Linked DNA regions of Homo sapiens: region 2 is linked to region 1. The links are contacts of gene promoters, found by promoter capture Hi-C in human tissues and cell types (Jung and others, 2019). All regions are on one chromosome and are shown on one strand. The core of a region is centred on a gene start or on the middle of the fragment in contact, and the rest is flanking DNA. Distances in the headings are between cores, read along the strand shown. Region 1 holds the start of FSIP2 (fibrous sheath interacting protein 2). Region 2 has its middle 380 kb from the start of FSIP2.

Region 1 (6,861 bases), core at 3,058-5,557:
ACAATAAACAAAAGAGGCGAGGCATATTGATAAAACTTGAAAGAACTTTCAAACCACAGCAGAGGGAAGGAGAATCCAGATGGATCCCATCTGACTCCCTGAGTTCAGAAGACAGAACCCAGAGCCCAGGAAGGCAGATAGAGCTAGAGCATGCAAAAGAAAAGTAGAAAGAGGACAGCTGCATGGAACGAGAACTTTCAAGATGTGCAGAGAATTATCTTTGAGTATTTCCTGCATATTTGTCAGAATACTGTGAGAAAACTACCATATGCCATGGAAAATATTCACTCAAAAGAGATAGTGCTGGGCTTTCACAAACAGCTGTAAACATTACCTGTTCCCACCAGCTAGGTTGGAAAAGTTTCTGATGGATGAGTCACTGGGTAGAGTTTGGAGAATAAAGCAATAATTAACCCTAAACTGAGGTGTCTTCTGATCTTCTCTAATAGATCTCAAAAGTAAGACTCAGAAGGAGAAAATTTTATCCTATAACTTTAGAAGGAGCTGATTCCAGCTATTAGTCTTCAAGTCTGCCAGCTGAAGTTCCAAACATCATAGAACAGAGACCAACTGTCTCCTCTGTGCCTCATCTGAATCTCCAAACCCAAAGAGAAACCACTAGACACAATAAGCAATTAATGTTGCTTTAAGCCTAAGGTTTTGGATAAATTGCTTTTTCATACATAGATTATTAACCCAACTTGTTTTTTAGTTCATAGGTCTTTGAATTCATACAGGCAGTATTCAAATAGCTGTACATGGACATAATTATAGATTACAAAACACTAAATTTTTAAGCCTAATCACATTACTGAATGAGACTCTTGGTAGTCTTAGGAGAGGTAAGTGTGTTTTGAATATAGAAGGAATGTGAATCATTTGACTAGAGAGTGATCTTTGGCAGATTTCTGAGGCAATGAGCCCTATGGATGGGAGCCTTAGTGTATCTGTATCTTTATGTAGTTAGTTTCCTTCCATGCCAGACAATAACAAATGTGATGCGAGCAAATACTTGAGAAGCACATGAGCACATTAATGTTTACTCCCTCTTGATGCTGGAAGTCTTGAGACTAAAATGTAAAACCATATTGCCTAACCTCCTGGAGAATGAAAAAGAATACATATAGACAATGATCCAGCCATCTCAATCATTCTAGTTTATTTGTTTGTTTTTGTCTGAGAGCCCAGACATGTGAGTGAAGCCATCCTAGATGATCTAGCCCTAGCTAAGCAAGTGCAAACCAAGACAACACCAGCAAACCCAGAGAACTGTGAGGAGTAATAAATCATTGTTTAAAGTCACTAAATTTTGGAAATGGTTTGTTATGTAGAAAAGGACAATAAATAAAGTCTCCGAAAAGACCCCAATGTTCATAAAACTTCAGACACATACTCCTCTAACTTTTCCGAGAATACAACAAATTCTCCTTTACATATAAATGTCATAGATATTTTATCTACACTGTAGACTTCTTCTTTTCCATTTGCTTTCCTTATAAATAGAACTCACCTATTTGATGTGGATTTTTCTTTTTTTTTTTGAGAATTCATTTTTTCTGGCTTACCTATTTCCTCTGGAAATTCAAGCTTGTCATCCACCACTGTCAGCTTCTCACAGCAATGATTCCCTCCAACTCTGTTCTTTTAAAAGTAGGTGAGATGAGGAAGAGCTCAAAGTTTTGAAAATTTTCTTCTTAAATTTTTCTCAAATCCATTCTCTGCTTGTCTACAAATCATGAAGTTTCCCAGATCTTTATTCTCACCCCCACAAATCCACCTTCCAAATTGTTGCCAGGGTGTTCTTCTAGAATAAGAATTAGCTTAAAATTTTTCAGCGGGTTCTCATTCATGTCTGACTAGATCAGGAAACAAAATTTTACTTAGTGCTCACTAAGTGCTTGCTCAGCACTATGCTAGGTGCTGTGCATACAAGTCGAATAAACCAACCCCTGCTCTAAAAGAATTTACATTCTAGTAAAGGGAGACTGACAGGTAAACAGATATTCTTGCTGTAATGTGAAAAAGTTAAGATGGAGGAAAGCACAAAGGGAGAGAATTTGTCAAAAGCTTAGAAAGACAGAAAGACTTCCCAGAGGTGTAACACTTGAATTGTTTTAAAGGCTGATTGAAATTAGCCAAGCAGTGAATTGAAAGGGGCTGTCAGGCAGAGGGGACAGCATAAACAAAGATGCAGAATCACGCATGAATAAGCAGGCCCCATGTAGAGAACTAACCACAAACAGTTTGGTGTCATTTGAGGTTCAATTCTGAGAGGTGGTACAGGGGAGTTATGTCTCAGAGATGGACAAAAACAGGGCTGTGAGAGGTAGTATAATAGTACCCCAAAGATGTCTATGTCCTCATTTTCAAGACTGAGTATGTGAATATTTCATAGCAAAGAGGAATTAAGATTGCTAATGGAATTAAGGTTGCTAATCAGCTGATCTTAAGATAGATAAATTAGCATGGATAACCTAGATGGGCCCAATGTAATCACAATGATTCTTTAATTGTAGAAGAGAAGGAGCAGAGGTCTGAGTCAGAGAGAGGTTTGAAGATGTTACATTGCCAGATTTAACGTGTGAGGAAGAGGCAACTTCTAGAAGCTGGAAAGGGCAAGAACATAGGTTGTGATCTAGAGCTTCCAGAAAGAACACAGCACTTCCAATACACTGGTTTCTGCCCAGTGAGATTCTCTTTGGATTACTAACCTCCATCACTGTAAGGTAATATATTTGTGGTAATTTAAGCCACTAAGTTTGTGGTGATTTGCTGGCAATAAGAAACTGATACAGAGACCAAGTAACAGAGGCCATTACACACTTTGCGCTGAGGGCAGTTGGGAGTTTAAAGTGAGGAAGAGAAATGGTCAGTTTGCCATCAAAGATCAAATTGATACAAGATGGATTTTTGGGGTAGATGGTGGCAGGGAGATGTTATAAGGCTGTGGCAATGGTGCAAACAAACAAACAAACAAAAAATGATTAGCGGCTTAACCGGGAGAGTAAAGTAGGAGTAGATAGAATCGGGCAAATTAATTTTAGTGATAAAATTAGTGGGACTTGGGGACCAACTAAACATGGGAGATAAGGGGAAAAAGAAGTATCTAGAAGCATTCCTTAGTTTCTGGCTTGGGTAGACTTTGGTATTGTCACTGAGATAGGAAATGCAGGAAGAAGCCTTTGTTTTTTTTTCCTGTTTTGGTGAAAGTTGTGTGTTGAGATTTGAGTAGATTGAATTTAAGACAATTGTGGGATATCCATATGGAAGCTGGCAATAGACTATATCCCAAGCTTAGATTTCAAATTTAAGAGTCCTAAGCACATGTGTGGAATTACAACAAAGAGAGCAGAGTGCACTGATTAAGAAAACAGCCTCAGGAGCCACCATTTAACAGCAATTGTCAGTCTTCCTCAATCTTTGAAAAATAAAGAGTAATTATTGATAAGGCTACTAAAATAAATAAATGTTTAAAAGGGTGTTTGGCACAGTATATGGAAGTTAGTAGATTCTGAAGAAATGGTAACTGTTATTACTAGTCGGGCCAGAAATAAAAGAGAACAGCAGTGGACCAAAGAAAGTATGAAGTTAAGTCTAAACAACAGGTGGGTTAGACACATACTGTCTCTGCCCTCAGAATACTCCCAGTCTAGTTAGCTTCTTACAGTCAGGGGCCATATTTTACTCACGGCTGTGTCCTGCCCAGTGCTTAGCTCAATGACTGGCCCAGAAGCGTCAAGCACTTTATAAATTTCGGCTGGATGGTTGAGGAGAAAGAGGGAAATAGGATCAAGCTGCAGGAGCAGAGAGGAGGCAGTGGGAGAGTGGTAAAGGGCGCTAGAAAGGAGAAGGAAACCTAGGGGACAGAAGAGGCAGGAGGAAGGCAATGAGCCCCTTAGGAAGCCAACGCGTCTGCCTTGTGGACCTGGTGTGGGAAGAAGCTGTGGGAGCCTGGGGATGGGGTGTGGTCTATATGGGGGAAGATGTAGAATGGGCAAAAACAATCACTCGGGAATTTTTATTGAACGGAACAGGGCTCCTTGGAAGCCAGGGGAAATTAACCAGTTACCCACCAACAAAGCTTATACGTTTTCGTTAGGATTGGCTAAGGCGTGATGGTTTCAGAGAAAGATGAAGTTTCAACTGTGGTCCTCTCAGATCAGGCCTCTCGGACCGATTTTCCCAGCTCTGCGGGCGCTCTACGCGCTGGCGCGAGCCGCCCCTCAGGAGGCCACCGCCCTTCTGGGGCCGCTACCATTGGAAGCCTGGAACGCGGGGGGCGGGGCTGAGGTCGTTGGGCTCTGGCCATTCCTGGTCAGGTCCGGACAGAGGGACAACGGGGTGCTAGAGAAGGAGAGCGGGGCGGGTGAGGAAGGGGCTGAGGGGGCTGTGCCGGCCATGGAGCTGTACCTCGGCGCCTGCTCCAAGCCTGCCAAAGTCGCCGTCACCAAGACGGTCGCCAGCGTCCTGGCCGCGGACACCCAGCAGTGCAGAGACGTGAGTGGCCGCAAGCTGGGCGGCGTCGCCCTCTGGCGGCCGCAGGCCTGCTGGGGAGCGGGGCAGGGATCGCCACACACGGGTCGCGAGGCTCCCAACTGTCCCCCGTCAGGAGGCTGCCCTCTTGCGGCGCCCGGGGGCGGTGGCGGTGGCTCGGACTGTACCGGCCGCAACTGGCAGGCGCGGGACGCCAGGAGAGCTGGTGACCAGGGAAAACGGGAGGACTTCAGGATGCCCCGAACCCTGATTGTATAATTCTTCGGAGTCTTTGGTTGCAATGGAAGTAGATTGGTCTAAACTAAACTAATACTGCCTAAAAGGAAAGACAAAACTCTCCAATTGTGTCTGACAGGGCGTGCACAAAACCCACTTTGCAGGGGTTGGACCGGCTCAGCTACTGGACCTACCTCTCGGGGTCAAGCTGCCTGTGATCCCAGGAAGCAATGCTGTATTCTATACTACGAATTTCGGTGAAAAGGTGAACAAGTTTTTATCGTCTTTCTTTCCTTTACCCTTTACTACTTGCTGTTTAACTCAAAGGCTGCATCATACAAAATTCATTAAAGGAATTTGCATCAACATTTACAGGAAAAAGAAAATCCCACATCTGACCGAAGGTATTGTTTAGAATGCATATGAAGCACTTTCATCTTAATGGTTTGGACATAATCATATTCCAGAAAGTTTAGATTCTTAGTCCTTAATTAACAATTCACGGTACCATATTAATATTCCTTATAATAAAACTTCATATATACTTATATAGTAAGATTTGATGTACTTAGAAACATGTTTAGAAGCTGAAAGGTTATTAGTGATAGCTGCCATTTAATGATATGTTACGATTTTAACTGACAGTATCTTGGACCAAACTCTCTTCACGGGAAACATTATTTTGTTTTGAGTTGAATTCTATTTTACACATAAAGAAAAAAAAAAGAACTGAAACAGTGGGACTTAAAATGAGTTAATATGTTTAGTACTTTAACCTTACTTTAATGAAAGAAAGCCCTGCCTCAATGAGGAAGAGACTCCATAATTTGCCCCAGCCTTTCCATCCAGCATTGTCTCCAACCAGAGAGGCTCAGCTTCTTCAAGTTGAGTCTTTCACACCTACCCATAAATACCATGCTAATACTTCAGTATTTTGTCAACTTTGCCCCCAAACCTGGCATACCTTGTCTTCTTCTCCCCAGTCTATGAATCTGAGCTATCAAGATTCTCTGAACTGTGATAGCCCCCCCGTTAGCTTATTTTTGCTTAGAGTTCACGTTGCCCTTGATTTGTGTGATCTCACTTACACAAACCATAGTTAATCATACTGGATTATAGTGTGTACTTCCCTTAAGCCTTTTCATGTTTTTAGTCCTTAACACCACACCTACCCCCAAACCTCCCCAGCCTTTGACTAAGTAGTCAATGCTGAAGGAGGTTTAGTACATTCTTGTTGACTGGTTGCTTTTATCAGTTTTGCAAAAAGTTCTACAAGAAAGAATTCTAAGTGGCCCACTTACCCTTCTAATGTCTATGATGTCATCAGAAATAAATAGAACCCCTTGGTATTTGATACTTGCTTAATGTCTTATACAGTTCAGGCTGTTATAACAATGTACCATAGACTGGGTGGCTTAGAAATAACGTAAATTTATTTATCATTGTTCTGGAGCTGGAAGTCCAAGATCAGGACACCAGCATGGTCAGATTCTCGTGGGGGTCCTTTGAAGTCCTTTCATTATTACCTCCCTGCATGGTAGAAAGAAGGCTGGAGAGTTCCCTGTGGTCTCTATAGGAACATTATCTCCCTTGATGAGGACTCCACCCTCATGACTTAATTATCCCCCAAGGCCCCAGCTCCTAATGCCATCACACTGAAGATTAGGATTGCATATGAATTTTGGGGGCATACAGTCAATCTAACACACTAAATAAACATGATTTCTTAAAACAAGTTTTGTTTCTGAAAAAAAGTATAATTGCTCTTTAAAAAAAACTAATCTGTTCTACTAGATTAGAGCAAGTGAACTACAAATATACCAACTTCACACAACTTGAGTCACATCCACACAAACTAACTTTGCAAAAACGTGCTTGAAATTTATTCCATTACAGGTGATATAATTCCTCTTTAGTGCATAAACTTAGAACTGTGGCTTTTGTCTCCTCCCTTAAATATATTATTTTACTCTATTGCCATTTTCTCTGTCGACCATTAATTCACTTGTCTACTACTTTTCAAAAAGATGTTCTATTTTTTATTACATTAATTCTCCCAAAATTTATTCATTTAATGAAATTAGTCACCATATAATTTCTCAGAAGAATTTTCTCTTTCAGTGTACTCTCCTTCATGAGGTAATGGTTAAT
Region 2 (6,861 bases), core at 2,256-4,755, 380 kb before region 1:
TGCTTTCTATCTTACGTATTATTATTATAATTATTTGCATAGTTACCATGTTTTATTTTCGAGATCCTACCTGGTCTGTTTAAAAGAGAGTAACAGATTTAAGTGGTTTACCAATATTAATATCTATAAATCACACACATTTAACTTTTGTAGATTTGAGGCTTCTGTCATTTGTTTAAACCTAGTTTATAATAAGAAATATATTGGCCAGTTGAAAATGTGTGAAGGCAAAATATCTGGAAGTATTAAATAACGATGCCTACCACCTTATTATAGATCTTAACATTAAGTATTTTCCAGTCAGAGGCATCTATTGATGTAAAAATGTTTGAAATTATTATTGTGGCAACATGGAAATGTATACACAAAAGAAATCAGTCCTTGGTTTATATTTTGCTGTTTGTTCTTGGGATATTTATTAGGAAGGTAGGTTAGATGCGTTATACAAACATTTTGTGAATTTTATAATAATATATGAATGTGTGTGTATATAAATACATGTACATGCAAGTATAAATATATAAACGTAAATCATATACTAGAACTCTACTTATTGGCTGTTATATACTGTATACCTTTCAGTTTGCTTGTATAGTAATATATATTCTTTTAATAAATCTTTTTGTCAAATAACAATAACTGAGTTACATTTCAAATAAACAAAGTATTTTTCAAAACAAGGAGTTTAGTGTCAATATATGTAATCAATGTAAAAAAATATCCAACATTACTTTAGTGTTTTGGCCTACTGCATATGGTCAGAGGCATCCATTGACATGGGGAAGAGTGAGATTACTATTGAGAACACAAGAGTTTATTTTTATGATATAATAAATTTTGTTGTATGTAATATATGGTTTAATATTTTTTTTCTTTTGAGCCAGGGTCCAACTCTGGTACCCAAGCTGGAGTGCAGGGATGTAATCATAGCTCACTGCAGTCTCGATTTCACAGGATCAGTCAAACTTTCTACCTCAGCCTCCCAAATATCTGGGATTATGGGCATACGCCACCATGTCCTGCTAATTTAAAAAACTTTTTGTAGAGATTGGGTCCTTTACGTTGCCCGGGCTGGTCTCAAACTCCTGGCCTCCAGCAATCCTCCTGCCTCAGCATTCCAAAGTGCTAGGATTATAGACATGAGGCACTGCACTCAAACCTTTGTTATAATTTATTTGTACAGTTCCTATTTTGCAACCATTTTGATTGATAAAATAGGAAATGAAATAAATTATCTTAAAATTTTTCCTCTAAATTTAATCAAATTTGAAAGTCAACCTATATTTTAGGTTGTAACTGAGAAATACAGAAAATAACAAACAATGAAAGAAAACCAATGAATCTGACCTATTTTATTAAAATGTAAATATATATTTGAAAATGACATTACAAAATGCACTTTATTTAATTGCAAGACAATCCGTGAGCACTTACAGGAAATTTTCTCAAGTGAAAGAATGCAATATCACAATTGATTAAATTGTTGTAAATATACATATGATTTTTCTGGAGCAACTGTGATAATTGAAACCTTTTAGCATTACACTAAATTAATTTGGAAAGAATGATTTTACAGATATGAAGATAATTTATTTCAAAGTGGGAATAAGCCATATTTACTTCAGCAAGTAAAATAATTTAGCTGAAATAACTAGATTGAGGCAGAAGCCAGTTTTGCTTTGATTAACCAAATAAATGCAGTGATTCCACCACTTATTTTCTATGTGTTTTTATCTAGATGTGTATGCATGTATGTTTGTATACAAATGCACTAGCAATGAATTTCATTGTCATGCACGAATGTCACTGAATCTTGATAAGAAAACAAAATTCAAGCAAATACTTTAATTTCTCCCCCACAGATTTACCAAGTCTTGAATGCAAATGAGTGATGCAAATTGTAAACAAATTATCTTTTGATGTTAGATGTTTATGATTTATATTGTCGTTGAAACCCATCTTGAGAAATCCTGTTTTAAATCATGAAATTATCCCTGCCTCTTCAGCATATACTTTTTGATAATCTTGAACACGTTTATATATTCCTTCTTCCATCCATTTTTTTCATCAGCTTTTGAGTGCCTATCATGTTACAGGCTTCTGAGAAGTATTATAGATAGCCAGGCGGTGTGGCTCACTCCTGTAATCCCAGCACTTTGGGAAGCTGAGGCGGGTGGATCACGAAGTCAAGAGATCAAGACCACCCTGGCCAACATGGTGAAACCCCGTTTCTACTAAAAATAAAAAAAAATTAGCTGGGCATAGTGGCACGTGCCTGTAGTCCCAGCTATTCAGGGGGCTGAGACATGAGAATCACTTGAACCCAGGAGGCAGAGGTTGCAGAATGAGCCAAGATTGTGCCACTACACTCCAGCCTGGTGACAGAGCAAGACTCTGTCAAAAAAAAGGGGGGAGGGCAATACAAATGACATATTTTAGTTACCTGATGTTGTATAATAAATTCTTCCAAAACTCAGTGTCATTAGAAAACAAAAATTCTATTACATTTAACAAATGTGTGGGCTGTCTGGACACAGTTGGATATTTCTTCTCTTTGATGCAATGTCAGTTGGTGCTGCAGCAATCTGCTTCAGGGCTTGAGAGAGCTGTTATATATATATATATAAAGGGGAGTTTATTAAATATTAACTCAGACCATGCCTGCTTATAGTCTAGCCATGCTAGCAGTTGATTAGATTGTGCCCACCCAAATTAAGAGTGGGTCTGCCTTTCCCAGCCCACTGACTCAAATGTTACTCTCCTTTGGCAACACCCTCACAAATACACCCAGGATCAATACTTTGTATCCTTTAATCCAATCAAGTTGACACTCAGTATTAACTATCACAAGTCCACCTCTTGTCAACTTGAATCCATAAACTTGAAGTCATATGTAATCTTCAAATAAGGACAATAATAAGGTCATAACTACCCCTAATATAATACAACTGTCTTTCATACAACTGGAAATGCACCAATCCGTAGCCCAAATATTATTATATAAAGTTAATAATACTTAAATGTTGATGTAGAGTCAATAAATCTTACGTCACATGATAAAGGAGAAAAGAAATAAATTGAAAATATTTTCTTAGTACAAGTGTATACATGCACATACATGTTTTTAACAAAAGAATGAGGAAATACAACAGTTACAGTCATTGTTTCTGCAGCTGCTCATGTAATTGCAGCTGGTGTCGATAACTACATTCTATTACCCATTCTGTATTCCCTTTGCCTTCAGCAAGCACCTCAACAGGTTGTGGTATTTTTCCTGGTGGAGTGACCCAAAACTTCATTCCAGAAGGGACTGGGTAACTTGTAGTCCTGCCTGGATTGGGCTGTTGTAGATTCCCATTGACCTTAATTACAGGGCATGGTAATACTAAGAGACACCCTAATGAATCTCCTGTATTCCATGCATACTCTTCCTTACCTCTGTTGGGGAGAGGTAGACTGATTTCATCTTGATAGTCCGGGTCAATAACCCCAACCAACACTGTAACTCCCTTCTTGGCCTATTGACTTAAAGGTAGGAGGAGGCCAAAGTGTCCAGGTTGCAATCTCAACTTCTAGTTTAATGGAATCGTTGTTGTGTCTCCTGGTGGCAGCATTCCTCCCTCTGGAACTAAGACCCCTAGGCCGGCAGAACGTAATGTCACAGGAACAGGAAGCAAAAAGTTTGCTAATGGATAAATAGGGGTGATGGTGAGTGGTGTCACTTCCACTTCCACCCCTCGATTGCTGGACCTGTGAATCCTGGCTATGGGAAAAACAGTACTATGTGTTGGACACTGATTCAGAACATACATGGCTTCTGGAGAACTTTGCCCCAGGCCTGCAAAAAATTGTCACCTACTTGGCATTGTAATTCTGACCCCAAGAGGCCATTCCACTGTTCTATCAATTCAGCTGCTTCAGGGTGATGGGAAACATGGTAAGACCAGTGAATCCCATGAGCATGAGCCCACTGCTGCACTTCTTTAGCCTTAAAGTGAGGGCCTTTGTCAGACGCAATGCTGTGTGGAATACCATGATGGCGGATAAGGCATTCCATGAGTCCACGGATGGCAGACTTGGCAGAAGCACTGCATTCAGGATAGGTAAACCAATACCCGTAGTAAGTGTTTATTCCAATGAGGACAAACCTCTGCCCTTTCCATGATGAAAAGTGTCCAATATAATCAACCTGCCACTAGGTAGCTGGCTGATCACCCTGAGGAATGGTGACATATCAAGGGCTCAGTATTGTTCTCTGCTGCTGGCAAATTCCTTTCATGAAAAGTTCACAACCAGATGCACTGCTCAAAGTTCTGCCAACTGGGAAGATTTCTCTTCACTGCTGCCTTCAGGGATGTCCTAGAAAGGGGCTGTACTGCTGTAGCTGTCCACTTTCGGGTGGTGCCTGCATATTGTGCAGAACCATCTGTGTACAAGGCCGTAGTCTTCTCTTCCTCTGTCAACTGTTCATAGGGAACTCCCCATGAAGCTATTGGTGCAGAATGGGGGAAAGAAGTGGCAGGAGTGGAGACCATGAGCATTTGAGCCACTTCCTCATGTAACTTACTTGTGCCTTCAGGACCTGCTCGAGCCCAACCATGTATATACCACTTCCATTCGATGATGGAATACTGCTGTGCATGACCTACTTTATGGTTAGATGGGTCAGAAAACACCCAGTTCGTGGTAGGCAGTTCAGGTCGCATGGTGACTTGATGACCCGTAGTCAAATGTTCAGTTTCCACCAAAGCCCAGTAACAGGCCAAGAGTTGTCTCTCAAAAGGAGAGTAGTTATCTGCAGAAGATGGCAGGGCCTTGTTCCAAAATCCTAGAGGTCTCCCCTGTGATTCACCACTAGGGTCCTGACAAAGGCTCCTAACAGCATCTCTATCTGCCACTGACACCTCAAGCATAATTGGATCTGCTGGGTCATATGACTCAAGTGGCAGAGCAGCTTACACAGCAGCCTGGACCTGTTGCTGAGCCTTCTCCTGTTCTGGACCCCACTCAAAACCGACAGCAACTTATCCTTCACCTTAGAAGAAATATCTCAACAGTTCCCACACCCTGGATAAGTAGAAATTCCAGTGAGGTAGAAAGTCCCTGAATTTTAGTCGAATTTATTTCCCATCCTCTTGCACACAAATATCTCACCAATAAGTCCAGTGTGTTTGCTAATTCTTGCTCATGGGACCCAATCAGTATAATTTCATCAATATAATGAACCAGTGTGATATCCCGTGGATGCAAAAAGCAATCAAGGTGTCTTCAAATATGATTATGACACAAAGCATGAGAATTGATATGCTCCCAAAGTAGGACAGTAAAGATTTGTTGCTGGCCTTACCAGCTGAGGGCAAATTGCTTCTGGTGGGCCTTATGGATAAGAATGGAGAAAAAGGCATTTGCCAAGTCAATGGCTGCATACCAGATACCAGGAGATGTGTTAATTTGTCAAGCAATGAAACCATATCTGGTAGAGCAGCTGCAATGGCAGTCACCACTTGGTTAAGCTTAAAATAATCCACTGTCATTCTCCATAATACATCAGTCTTCTGACAGGTCAAATAGGAGGGTTGAATAGAGATGTGGTGGGAATCACCACCCCTGTGTCTTTCAAGTCCTTGATGGGTCCACAGTATTGTGCAGAACCATCTGTGTACAAGGCCCTAGTCTTCTCTTCCTCTGTCAACTGTTGATAGGGAATTCCCCATGAAGCTATCGGTGCAGAATGGAGGAGAGAAGTAGCAGGAGTTGTCTCCAATTAGAGTGGCACTAATCTCTGCAACCCCTAAAGAGATACGATATGGTTTTTGATTTACTATTTTTCTGGGTAGATGCAGCTCTAATGACTTCCATTTGGCCTTTCCCACTGTAATAGCCCTCACCCTACCAGTCATGGAGCCAATGTGGGGATTCTGCCAGCTGCTAAGTATGTCTATGCCAATTACGCATTCTGGCATTGGGGAAATGACCACAGGATGAGTCTGGGACCCACTGGATGCACTGTAAGTCAGACCTGAGCTGAAACTCCATTAATTACCTGACCTCCATAAGCTTCTACTTTAACTGGAGGACCACAATAACGTTTAGGGTCCGCTGGTATCAACGTCAGCTCAGAGCCAGTGTCCAGTAGTCCCCCAAATGTCTGATCATTTCCCTTTCCTCAGTACACAGTTACCCTGGTAAAAGGCTGGAGATCTCCTTGGGGGAGGATGGGAGAAAGATTCACTGCATAAATTGTCGGTAGTGTAGTGGGGTCCTTCCTCCAGGGGAGCTGGACTCCCCTTCATTCAAGGGGTTCTGGATCTGTAAATTAGCTCAAGTCTGGAAATTGATTGAACAGCCATGATTCTCTGTTTTTATAATTCAAATTAGTTTTTTGTCCATTCAACCTAGAAATTTTCTGCTTGTATAAATTAAGTAGGAATGCAGTAGATTTCCTATTAATTTCACACTTAAGAACACCGTGATTGATTAGCCAATGCCAGAGCTCTACAGGAATCAGACTATTCTGATTGCTGCTTTGCCTCTGCTGTTCATTATGATAGTTATGCTCACCTTGCCTTTGACTGTTCAGTGCCACCACTTGGCCCCTGCCACCTTGGGATCCAATTATTCCTATTGTATTTAAACTTTGTAGTTGGCTGACTGCGGTTCCCACCATCAGATCTGACATACAGAGAAGAGCAATTACAGGACTCTTCAAAGATTCAGGTACTGCCCTCAAAAATCTATTTCACAAGGCATTGGTCAAGTGTATGTCTTCTGGACCCTCCCAGCTGGGATTATTAGGTCTAAAGTGACTAATCCACTCTACCTTCCCAATCTCCCTAAGCCTTTGGATCCCTTCCTCTATAT

Evidence for each region. Contacts are between HindIII fragments. The study calls those that stand out against the background at their distance.
Region 2: a fragment that was not itself captured here is called in contact with the fragment with the promoter of FSIP2 in region 1 in 1 of the 25 tissues and cell types used here (H1 embryonic stem cells).

Annotation. Positions count from the first base shown.
Region 1 is chr2:185,734,497-185,741,357 of GRCh38, forward strand. It overlaps FSIP2 (fibrous sheath interacting protein 2), which reads left to right and starts at 4,308. Exons shown (of 23, transcript NM_173651.4): 1 at 4,308-4,497; 2 at 4,850-4,975. The coding sequence starts at 4,399. FSIP2-AS2 (FSIP2 antisense RNA 2) reads right to left here and starts at 5,981. Exons shown (of 3, transcript NR_110217.1): 1 at 5,883-5,981. RefSeq lists a silencer at 4,440-4,709. The HindIII fragment of the contact is 10,800 bases long and covers 3,688-6,861 here.
Region 2 is chr2:185,357,812-185,364,672 of GRCh38, forward strand. No RefSeq gene overlaps it. Among named protein-coding and RNA genes, the nearest start is that of FSIP2, 380 kb to the right of the region's middle. The HindIII fragment of the contact is 4,559 bases long and covers 1,227-5,785 here.